Linked DNA regions of Homo sapiens: region 2 is linked to region 1. The links are contacts of gene promoters, found by promoter capture Hi-C in human tissues and cell types (Jung and others, 2019). All regions are on one chromosome and are shown on one strand. The core of a region is centred on a gene start or on the middle of the fragment in contact, and the rest is flanking DNA. Distances in the headings are between cores, read along the strand shown. Region 1 holds the start of ZNF641 (zinc finger protein 641). Region 2 has its middle 39 kb from the start of SNORA2C.

Region 1 (4,889 bases), core at 2,112-4,611:
AGAATATATAAGGATCTCAAGCAACTCTACAGGAAAAAATCTAATACTCTGGTTAAAAAATAGGCAAAAGATTTGAATAGACATTTCTCAAAAGAATACATACAAATGGCAAACAGACATATGAGAAGGTGCTCAATATTACTGATCATCAGAGAAATGCAAATCAAAACTCCAATGAGATATCATCTCACTCCTGTTAAAATGGCTTATATTCAAAAAGCAGGCAATAACAAATGCTGGTAAGGATGTAGAGAAAAGGGAACCCTCATACACTGCTAGTGGGAATGTAAATTAGTATAACTACTAGGGAGAACAGTTTGGAGGTTCCTCAAAAAAACTAAAAATTGAGCTCCTATATGATCCAGCAATCCCACTGCTGGGTATATACCTAAAAGAAAGGAAATCAGTTTATCAAAGAGATATCTGCATTCCCATGTTTGTTGCAGCTCTGTTCACCATAGCCAAGATTTGGAAGCAATCTAAGTGTCCATTAACAGATGAATGAATAAAGAACAAATGGTACTTACACACAATGGAGCACTATTCAGCCATAAAAAAAGAATGAGATTTAGTCATTTGCAACAACATGGATGGAACTGGAAGTCATTATGTTAAGCGAAATAAGCCAGACACAGAAAGACAAACATCACATGTTCTCACTTATTTGGAGGATCTAAAAATCAAAACAATTCAACCCATGGAGATAGAGAGTAGAAGGATGGTTACCAGAGGCTGGGAAGGGTAATGGGGGAATGGGGACAGTGAGGATGGTTAATGGGTACAAAAAATAGTTTGAATGCATGAATAAGACCTAGTATTTAATAGAACAACCTAGTATTTAATAGACCTAGTATTTAATAGTTATTATAGTCAATAATAACTGTACATTTTAAAGTAACTAAAAGGGTATAATTGGATTGTTTGTAACACAAAGGATAAATGCTTGAGGGGATGGATACCTGATTCCCATGATGTGATTATCATGCATTGCATACCTGCATCAAAATATCTCATGTACCCCATAAAGATATTCACCTATTATGTAACTACACAAATTTAAAATTATAAAAGTTATTTTTAAAAAGAAAAGGTTCTGGTATAAAGAAGATGATACCATTCAGCCTCTTTTTTTTTTTTTTTTTTTGAGACGAAGTCTCATTCTGTTGCCCAAGCTGGAGTATTAGTGGCACGATCTCTGCTCACTGCAACTTCCACCTCCTGGTTTCAAGCGATTCTCCTGCCTCAGCCTCCCAAGTAGCTGGGACTACAGGCACGCACCACCATGCCCAGCTAGAGACAGGGTTTCACTATGTTGGCCAGGCTGGTTTTGAACTCCTGACCTTGTGATCCGCCCGCCTCTACCTCCCAAAGTGCTGGGATTACAGGCATGAGACACTGCACCTGGCTTTTTTTATTTTTTGGAAACAATCTCACACTGATTTGTTTCCCAAAACAGTCGAGGAGAGTTTGGGCTATTATAATATCTATCAGTTCTTTCCAAACATTCTTTTCAGGTAAAGTCAGGTTTACGTACTTGGTTATGTTCAATTTAACTCTGTGTGACGAGGCAATGCTGTGTCCAGCAGCGCCCATTTCCTTTTCCATGAGGCACACATTCTTTACTTCCCAGCCACCCTTCTGGGTAGGGCCATGTGACCATGCGCATGAGTTCTGGCTAAGGGAATGGGGTGAAAATGATACACACCACTTCCAGGACTGGCCCCTAATATCTCTGACAAGTTAACCACGGCCAGCCTCCCTTATCTGAGGGCCACAGATTTGACTACATTACCAAGGCCTCGGCATGGGAGAACCACCAAATGCAAGAAGCCTGGTCCTTCAATGAATTCAAGAAGTACAGACCCCACCCTCTGGCCCCAACCAACTTGTTACCACACTGTGACTTGTATGAACATAAGCCTTTATGGAGTTAAGCCCCGAGATACTGGTTTTGCTAGCCTACTCCAATTAACGCACCTTATATTTACCACCAGTGGTAGCATAAGTGAAAAGAACCCCTGGACTTAGTTCCAGGACCCGGGATAAAAATTCTGGCTCTACTACTACCCCGACATATCCCATGATCTGCTCCTAGAATATGCTCTATACTCTTCCCAACTGCGTGTCTACTGCATTTTCCTCTTTCATTAGACAGCCCTCCTGACTCTTCTCTGCCTCACGATTTCTGTCAGAGTGGGGGGCCTTCTCTGACCTCCGTCCCATACGTGGTCACTTCTCTTTGCTTCAAGTGCAGCGTACGTTCCTCTGTTTTAGAATCTACGTTTTTATTGCAAATATTTGTTGACATGTGCTTCCCCAGACTGTGAATCCTTTAACTCCCAGCATTTAGTTACAGTGTCTGGCACACGTAGAAAATAAATATGCATTAAACGAATGATTGTCACATATGACCTTAAGTGAGTCAATTATTTTTTAAGTCTACTAAATAAAATTTTTGAAAATTGTTGTAATGATGAAATAAGGAATGTGAATGTGACTTGTAGGTTATAAACAGATTCTAACAGCAATGGGTTTACTCACTGTTTGTAGGCCCTTCTCATCTTTTCTAGTCAAATCCATCTTAATGCTGCAAGGTAGCACTATCCAATAGAAATATAATGCAAGCCATATTTATAGCCACATTTAAAAAGTTAAAACCAGGTGAAATTAATTTTAATATATTTAACCCAATATACCCAAAATATCACTTTTTAAATTAAATCTTCTAAATCTTGGAACACATCTCTATTCAGACCAGCCACATTTCGAGAGCTCAGGTGTCACCTGCGGCTACGGCTCCCGCAAATGGGACAGCAGCCGCAAGGCCAACTTCAGATAGCAACCTGACTTCCCCTCAGGCAGAATAAGTGACTCCTCCTCAGTGCTCTCTCAAGCCCTTTATCCTATCGTGAAAACTAGAGGGTACGCTCCTTGAGGAATTCCAGACTGTTGTCTGGAGAAATCGCTCTCGGCCTCGGTCTGGCCTGTAACGGGCGGTTACGCAATTCCAGGTAATTGACGAACCCTGAGGACAGAACTCCGTGGGAGGCCCAGTAGCCAGAGCGGAAAATGGTCAGTCAGGCAAGAGTGCGGGCAAGTGGCCACAGCAGGCTGCGATTCCGGCGCCCGCCGCCCTCCAAGCGTCTCGGGCCGCACCCTCCCCACAGCGGCGGGCGCGGAGGTCCCGGGTTCGCGTTTGGGGGCGCCTGAGCCGCAGCCCCGCCCCCTCCCGTCCCTCCCTCCCTCCCTCCCTCCCACTCCTCTCCCTCCCACTCCTCTCCCTCCCACTCCCCGCACCTCCGCCGCCGCAGAGCCCCGGAAGCGGGCGGGGATTTCCTGTGCCCGCCCCGCCCCGCCCGCGCCTGCCGGGCCGCCGTCTCCGCCTGTCGCTGGCTCCGCCGGCCGCCGGCTCCCAGACGCAAGCGGAGGGCGGAGGGGAGGGGCAGGCGGCGCCCGGGAGGGAGGCACCGGGCCGCGGGCCAAGCCTACCGGGGGTGAGTGGAGCCGGGCCGGAGGGAGCTGCGGCTGGAGGGAGGGACGCCTGGCTTCCCGGGGCGGCTGGTGGGGGCTCGGTCACCCATAGGGGCTGGGAGGAGGATCGGCGCGTCTTCCGGGTTGCTGCCTTTCCCGGGGGTCTGCCCCGCTGACATTCTGTGCCCGCCTCTCGCCCTGTCTCCCCGTGCCCATCGCAACTGTCAGGCCCTGCGGGCTCCCGCCGCTGTCACTCGCGCACAGGTTACCCCGTGGCTCCCTTTCTCTTCACTTGCTCATGCCCCAGCTCATGGGAAACCTGTTTTCTGACCTCACTTCCCCTGCTCCAGTTCTGCCTTGCTCGGATTCTCTGAAATCTGACCCTTTCCAGGGGCACTGTGACAAGAAGAAGGGAAGAAGCAACCTTACCCCTGAGCAGGCTCCCGTCCCGCCCATGCCCTACCCGTGGCAGGGGCCAGGGTTCTCTGATGGACGGAGCCAACTCGTCCGTGTGCCCTTGGGCTACTCATTTTTATAACATGGCCCCTTTTCTGTTCATCAGCACTGGCTGCAGAAACTTCCTTTTGCAGGTCCCTTGCTACCCATATGTGTGAAGAAAAGGGGGAAATGAAAGCCCTAGAACCCACACTGCAGTGGGCATGGGATCATCCTGGAACCAGGAGAAACGAGGTTAGGGCTACCACCTTAACCGCCCAGGTGCTGGCTCTGCGTGAATATCTTAGGAAATGCAAGCTGAGGACAGGTACCCATCCCATCCTTTGCTGAGATTTTTGCTAGCACTTCCACGGATTTCTGTCAGTGGTATAGAAAAACTTACAGCTGGCCCAATGGGCTCTGCACAAAGAGGCTTCCCATTAAGAGACTCTGCTACCTGGGGGAGATGGAGAAAGGGTTTGAGACAAGTGTCCAGATATGTAGCTAGAGGTAAAGCCTTCAGGGAGGATTTGCACAGGAGCTAGAGAACCAGAAAGATGGGACGAAGAGGGAGAATTAGTGCCCTGTGTGTTAAAAGTGGATACAGAGCTGGAATTCAGAGAAGAGAGCTAAAATGGAAGTTTCCCTTTATTGCTTTAGCAAGAATTTTCCTTTCTCATGAAAAGTCTCTGAAAAGGAAACCTCCTAGGCTGGGAATCAGTCCAGGGTGCTCCCATGAGGCCCTGAGCCATCTTTGGACTTCTGAGATAAAAAGGGAATTTGTTTTTCCTGTGCATTGGGCTTAGGGTTCCCACCTACCTCTTTTGTCAAAGACAAATAGGCAAGAAAATAGACGACTTGACATCTGTGATTACCTACCCTGGCCTTCAAGGTTCTTGCAAGTGTTATTGAAAGGATGTAAGTAAGCCAGGATAGTTACCAAGTTTCTGACTGCTCTTGGAAGCCTTTCACTGACTCTGACT
Region 2 (4,879 bases), core at 1,009-3,508, 260 kb before region 1:
CGAGTAGCTGGGACTACAGAGACACACCACCACACCCGGCTAATTTTTTGTATTTTAGTACAGACGGGGTTTCACCATGTTGGCCAGGCTGGTCTCAAATTCCTGACCTCATGAACCCGCCTCGGCCTCCCAAAGTGCTGGGATTATAGATGTGAGCTGGGATTATAGATGTGCGCCCAGCCTATTATTATGATTTTTTGAGAGACATAGTCTCACTCCGTTGCGCAGGCTGCAGTGCAGTGGTGTGATCATAGCTTACTGTAACCTCAAACTCCTGGACTCAAATAATCTTCCTGTTGCAGCCTCCTGAGTGGCTGGGACTAGAGGCATGTGCCACTATATCTGCTTAATTAAGTTTTTTTTTTTTTTGTAGAGACAAGGTCTTGCTATATTGCCCAGGCTGGTCTCAAACCCCTGGCCCCAAAAAATTCTCCTGCCTTGGCCTCCCAAAGTGCTGGGATTACAGGCATGAGCCATTGTGCCTCGCATGCAATGTGTGTTTAAATAACCCATGAGTAAAGGAAGAAATCACAAGGGAAATTAGAAAATATTTTGAACTAAATTATAATAATTACATATGAAAAATTGTGAAATGCTGCTAAATCAGTGCTTAGAAGAAACTTTATGTCTTTAAATGCTTATGTTAGAAAGATAAATATTTAAAACCAATAATTTAAGCTTCCACTTTAACAAGGTAGATCAGGAAAAGCAAGATGGACTCAGAGTAAATAGAACAGAGAAAATAACAAAGAATGGAAATCAATGAATATAAAGGAGAAAAACCAATAAAACAAAAATTAGTTTTTAAAAATTTGAAACAGGGTATTGTTCTGTCATTCAGGCTGGAGTGCAGTGATATGATCATGGCTCACTGCAGCCTCAACCTCTTGGGCTCAGGTGATCCTCCCATCTCAGCCTCCCAGGTAGCTGGAACTACAGGTATACACCACCATGCCTGGCTAATGTTTTAGATTTTTTGTAGAGTCAGGGTTTCACCATGTTGCCCAGGCTGGTCTTGGACTCCTAGGCTCAAGTGGTCTGGCCTTCCAAATTGCTGGGATTACAGGCAAAAAATTAGCTCTTTGAAAAAAATCAATAAAATTGATAAATTATCAGCTAAATTGACTTAAACCCAGACAAACACAAATTATCAATATCAATAAACAAAAGAAGAGGTATCACTACAAACCCTACAGATATTAAAAGAATTAAAAGGCAGTATTATGAACAACCTTATGCCAATACATTTGACAATTTAAATAAAATTTTTAAATTACTTGAAAGATGCTAATGACCAGAATGACATAAGAATTAATACAAATCTGAATAATCTTATATCTATAAAAGAAATTAAACTCATAATTGCTGTAGTTTGGTAGACTCAGCCATTCCAGTCTGCTGGTTTTGGAGAATATAAAGTCTGGATGAGGAAAAGTCCCTCACAAAGCAACACAGCCACCTTGCCAGACTGTGGTCAGACTGCTTCTTTAAGCGGGACCCCAGTTCATTCTTCCTCACTGGGTGCAACCTCTCTGTGGGAGCTTCAGCCACTCCAGCTAGGGTTCTACAGAAAAAGCTCTGATCTCTCCCTGGGATAGAGCCCCTGGGGGAGGTGCAGCTGCTGTCTTTGTGGTTTGGTTGACTCAGTCTTTTCCAGCCTATCGGCTTTGGAGAATACAAACAGTCTGGACAAGGAAGGGCTCCCCCCAGTGCAGCACACCTGCTCTATCAAAAAGCAGTCAGATTGCTTATTTATTTATTTATTTTTGAGACGGAGTCTCACTCTGTCCCCCAGGCTGGAGTGCAGTGGCATGATCTCGGCTCATTGCATGCTCCACCTCCCAGGTTCATGCCATTCTCCTGCCTCAGCCTCCCGAGTAGCTGGGACTACAGGCACCTGCCACCACACCTGGCTAATTTTTTTTTTTTGTTTTTTTTTAGTGGAGATGGGGTTTCACCATGTTAGCCAGGATGGTCTCGATCTCCTGACCTCGTGATCCACCTGCCTCGGCCTCCCAGGGTGTTGGATTACAGGCATGAGCCCACTGTGCCCGGCACAGATTGCTTATTTAAGTGGGTCCCTGATCCCATTCCTCCTGACTGGGTGAGACCTCCCAACAGGGGTCTCCAGACACCTCCTACCAGTGTGTTTGGGCCAGCAACAGGTCAGTACCCACCTGGGACAAAGTTTCCAGAGGAAGGAGCTGGCAGCCATCTTTGCTGTTTTGCAGCCTTCACTGGTGATACCTCCAAGTACTGGAAAAAACAAGGCAACTAGGGTCTGAAGTGGACCCCCAGCAAACCACAGAAGCCCTACAGTAGTGTAGCTTGACTGTTAAGAGAAAAACAAACAAGCAAACAAACAAACAGAAAACAACAGCAACAACATCAACAAAAAAGACCCCACAAGAAGTCTGTTCAAAGGTTAGCAACCTCAAAGATTCAAGGTTGATAAGCCCACAAAGATGAGGAAGAATCAATGCAAAGAAGCTGAAAACTCAAAAAGCCAGAGGGCCTTTTTTCCTCCAAATGACCACAACACTTTTCCAGCAAGGACACAAAACTGGGCTCAGGCTGAGATGGCTGAATTGACAGAAGTAGGCTTCAGATGATGGGTAATAATGAACCTCACTGAACTAAAAGAGCATGTTCTAACCCAATGCAAAGAAGCTAAGAATCATGATAAAACAATATAGGAGGCTGGGTGCAGTGGTTCATGCCTATAATCCCAGGACTTTGGAGGCTGAGGCAGGCAGATCATGAGGTCAGGAGTTTGAGACCAGACTGGCCAACATGATGAAAACTGTCTGTACCAAAAATACAAAAAAATTAGCTGGGCACAGTGGTGCTTGCCTGTAATCCCAGCTAATTGGGAGGCTGAGGCAGGAGAACCAGTGAACTCAGGAGGCAGTGGTTGCAGTGTGCTGAGATCAGGCCACTGCACTCCAGCCTGGGTGACAGAGCAAATCTCCACCTCTACAAAATACAAAATGAAACAATACAGGAGCTAATAGCCAGAATAGCCAGTTTAGAGCGGAACAAAACAGACCTGATGGAGCTGAAAACACAACATGAGAACATCACAATGTGTCACAAGTATCAGTAGCAGAATAGACCAAGTGGAGGAAAGAATCTCAGAGCTTCAAGACTATCTTGCTGAAATAAGACAGGCAGACAAGAATAGTAATAATCTCGGAGCTTGAAGACAATCTTTCTGAATAAGACAGGCAAAAAAGAATGAAAAGGAATGAACAAAACCTCAGAGAAATATGAGACTGTTTAAAAAGACCTAACCTATGACTGATTGGGGTACCTGAAAGAGATGGGGCAAATGGAGCCAAGTTGGAAAACATACTACAGAATATCATCCAGGAGAACTTCTGCAACCTAGCAAGACAGACCAACATTCAAATTCAGGAAATGCAGAAAACTCCAGTAAGATACTCCACGAGAAGATCAACCCCAAGACACATAATCCTCAGAGTCTCCAAGGTCTACATGAAAGAAAAAAATGTTAAGGGCAGCCAGAAAGAAAGGCTAGGTCACTTACAAAGGAAAACCCATCAGACTAACAGCAAACCTCTCAGTGGAAACCATACAAGCCAGAAGAGATTGAGGGCCAATATTCAACATTCTTAAAGAAAAGAATTTCCAACCTGGAATTTTATATCTAGCCAAGCTAAGCTTCATATGCAAAGGAGAACTAAGACCCTTTTCAGAGAAGCAAATGCTTAGGGAATTTATCACCACCAGGCCTGCCTTGCAAGAGCTCCTGAAGGAAGCACTAAATATGGAAAAGAAAACCACTACCAGCCACTATAAAAATACAGTGAAGTACACAGACCAGTGACAATATGAAGCAACCACATAAACAAGGTCTGCAAAATAACCAGCTAGCATCATGATGACAGGATCAAATTCACACATAACAACACTAACCTTAAATGTTAATGGGCTAAATGCCCCAATTAAAAGACACAGAATGGCAAACTGGATAAAGAGATAAGACCCGTTGGTATGCTGTCTTCAAGAGACACATCTCATTTGCAAAGACACACAGACTCAAAATAAAGGGATGGAGGAAAGTTTACCAAGCAAGTGGAAAGCAGAAAAAATCAGGGGTTGCAATCCTAGTTTCTAACAAAACTAATTTTAAACCAGCAAAAATAAAAAAAGACAAAGAAGGGCATTACACAGTGGTAAAGGGTTCAATTCAAAAAGAAGAGCTAATTATCCTAAACATATGTGCACCCAATATAGGAGCACCCAGATTAATAAAGCAGGTTCTTAGAGACCTATAAAGAGACTGAGACTCCCACGCAATAATAGTGGGAGATGTTAACACCCCACTGACAATATTAAACAGATCATTGAGAAAGAAAATTAACAAATATATTCAGGACATGAACTCAGCTCTGGATCAAGTGGACCTGACAGATATCTACAGCACACTCAACCACAAAACAACAGAGTATACATTCTTCTTTCTCATTGCTACACAGCACTTGCTCTGAAATTGATCACATAATTGGAAGTAAAACACTTCTCAGCAAATGCAAAAGAACTGAAATAATAACAACCTCTCAGACCACAGTGTAATCAAGTTAGAACTCAAGATTAAGAAATTCACTCAAAATTACACAACTACATGGAAATTGAACAACCTGCTCCTGAATGACTCTTGGGTAAATAATGAAATTAAGGTAGAAATCAAGAAGTTCTTTGAAACTAATCAGAACAAAGAGACAATGTACCACAATCTCTGGGACATAGCTAAAGCAATGTTAAGCGGGAAATTTATAGCACTAAATGCCCACATCAAAAAGCTAGAAAAACATCAAATTAACAACCTAACATGTCAACTAAAAGTACTAGAGAA

What was found. The method cuts DNA at HindIII sites, captures the fragments that hold promoters and counts their contacts. A contact is called where the count stands out against the background at its distance.
Region 2: a contact is called between a fragment that was not itself captured here and the fragment with the promoter of ZNF641 in region 1, in 1 of the 25 tissues and cell types used here (adrenal gland).

The regions. Positions count from the first base shown.
Region 1 is chr12:48,349,391-48,354,279 of GRCh38, reverse strand. ZNF641 (zinc finger protein 641) reads left to right here and starts at 3,361. Exons shown (of 6, transcript NM_001172681.2): 1 at 3,361-3,494. RefSeq lists silencers at 2,851-2,930, 3,211-3,640 and enhancers at 2,606-3,342, 3,781-3,850. The HindIII fragment of the contact is 12,105 bases long and covers 1-4,889 here.
Region 2 is chr12:48,612,641-48,617,519 of GRCh38, reverse strand. No RefSeq gene overlaps it. Among named protein-coding and RNA genes, the nearest start is that of SNORA2C, 39 kb to the left of the region's middle. The HindIII fragment of the contact is 5,812 bases long and covers 1-4,879 here.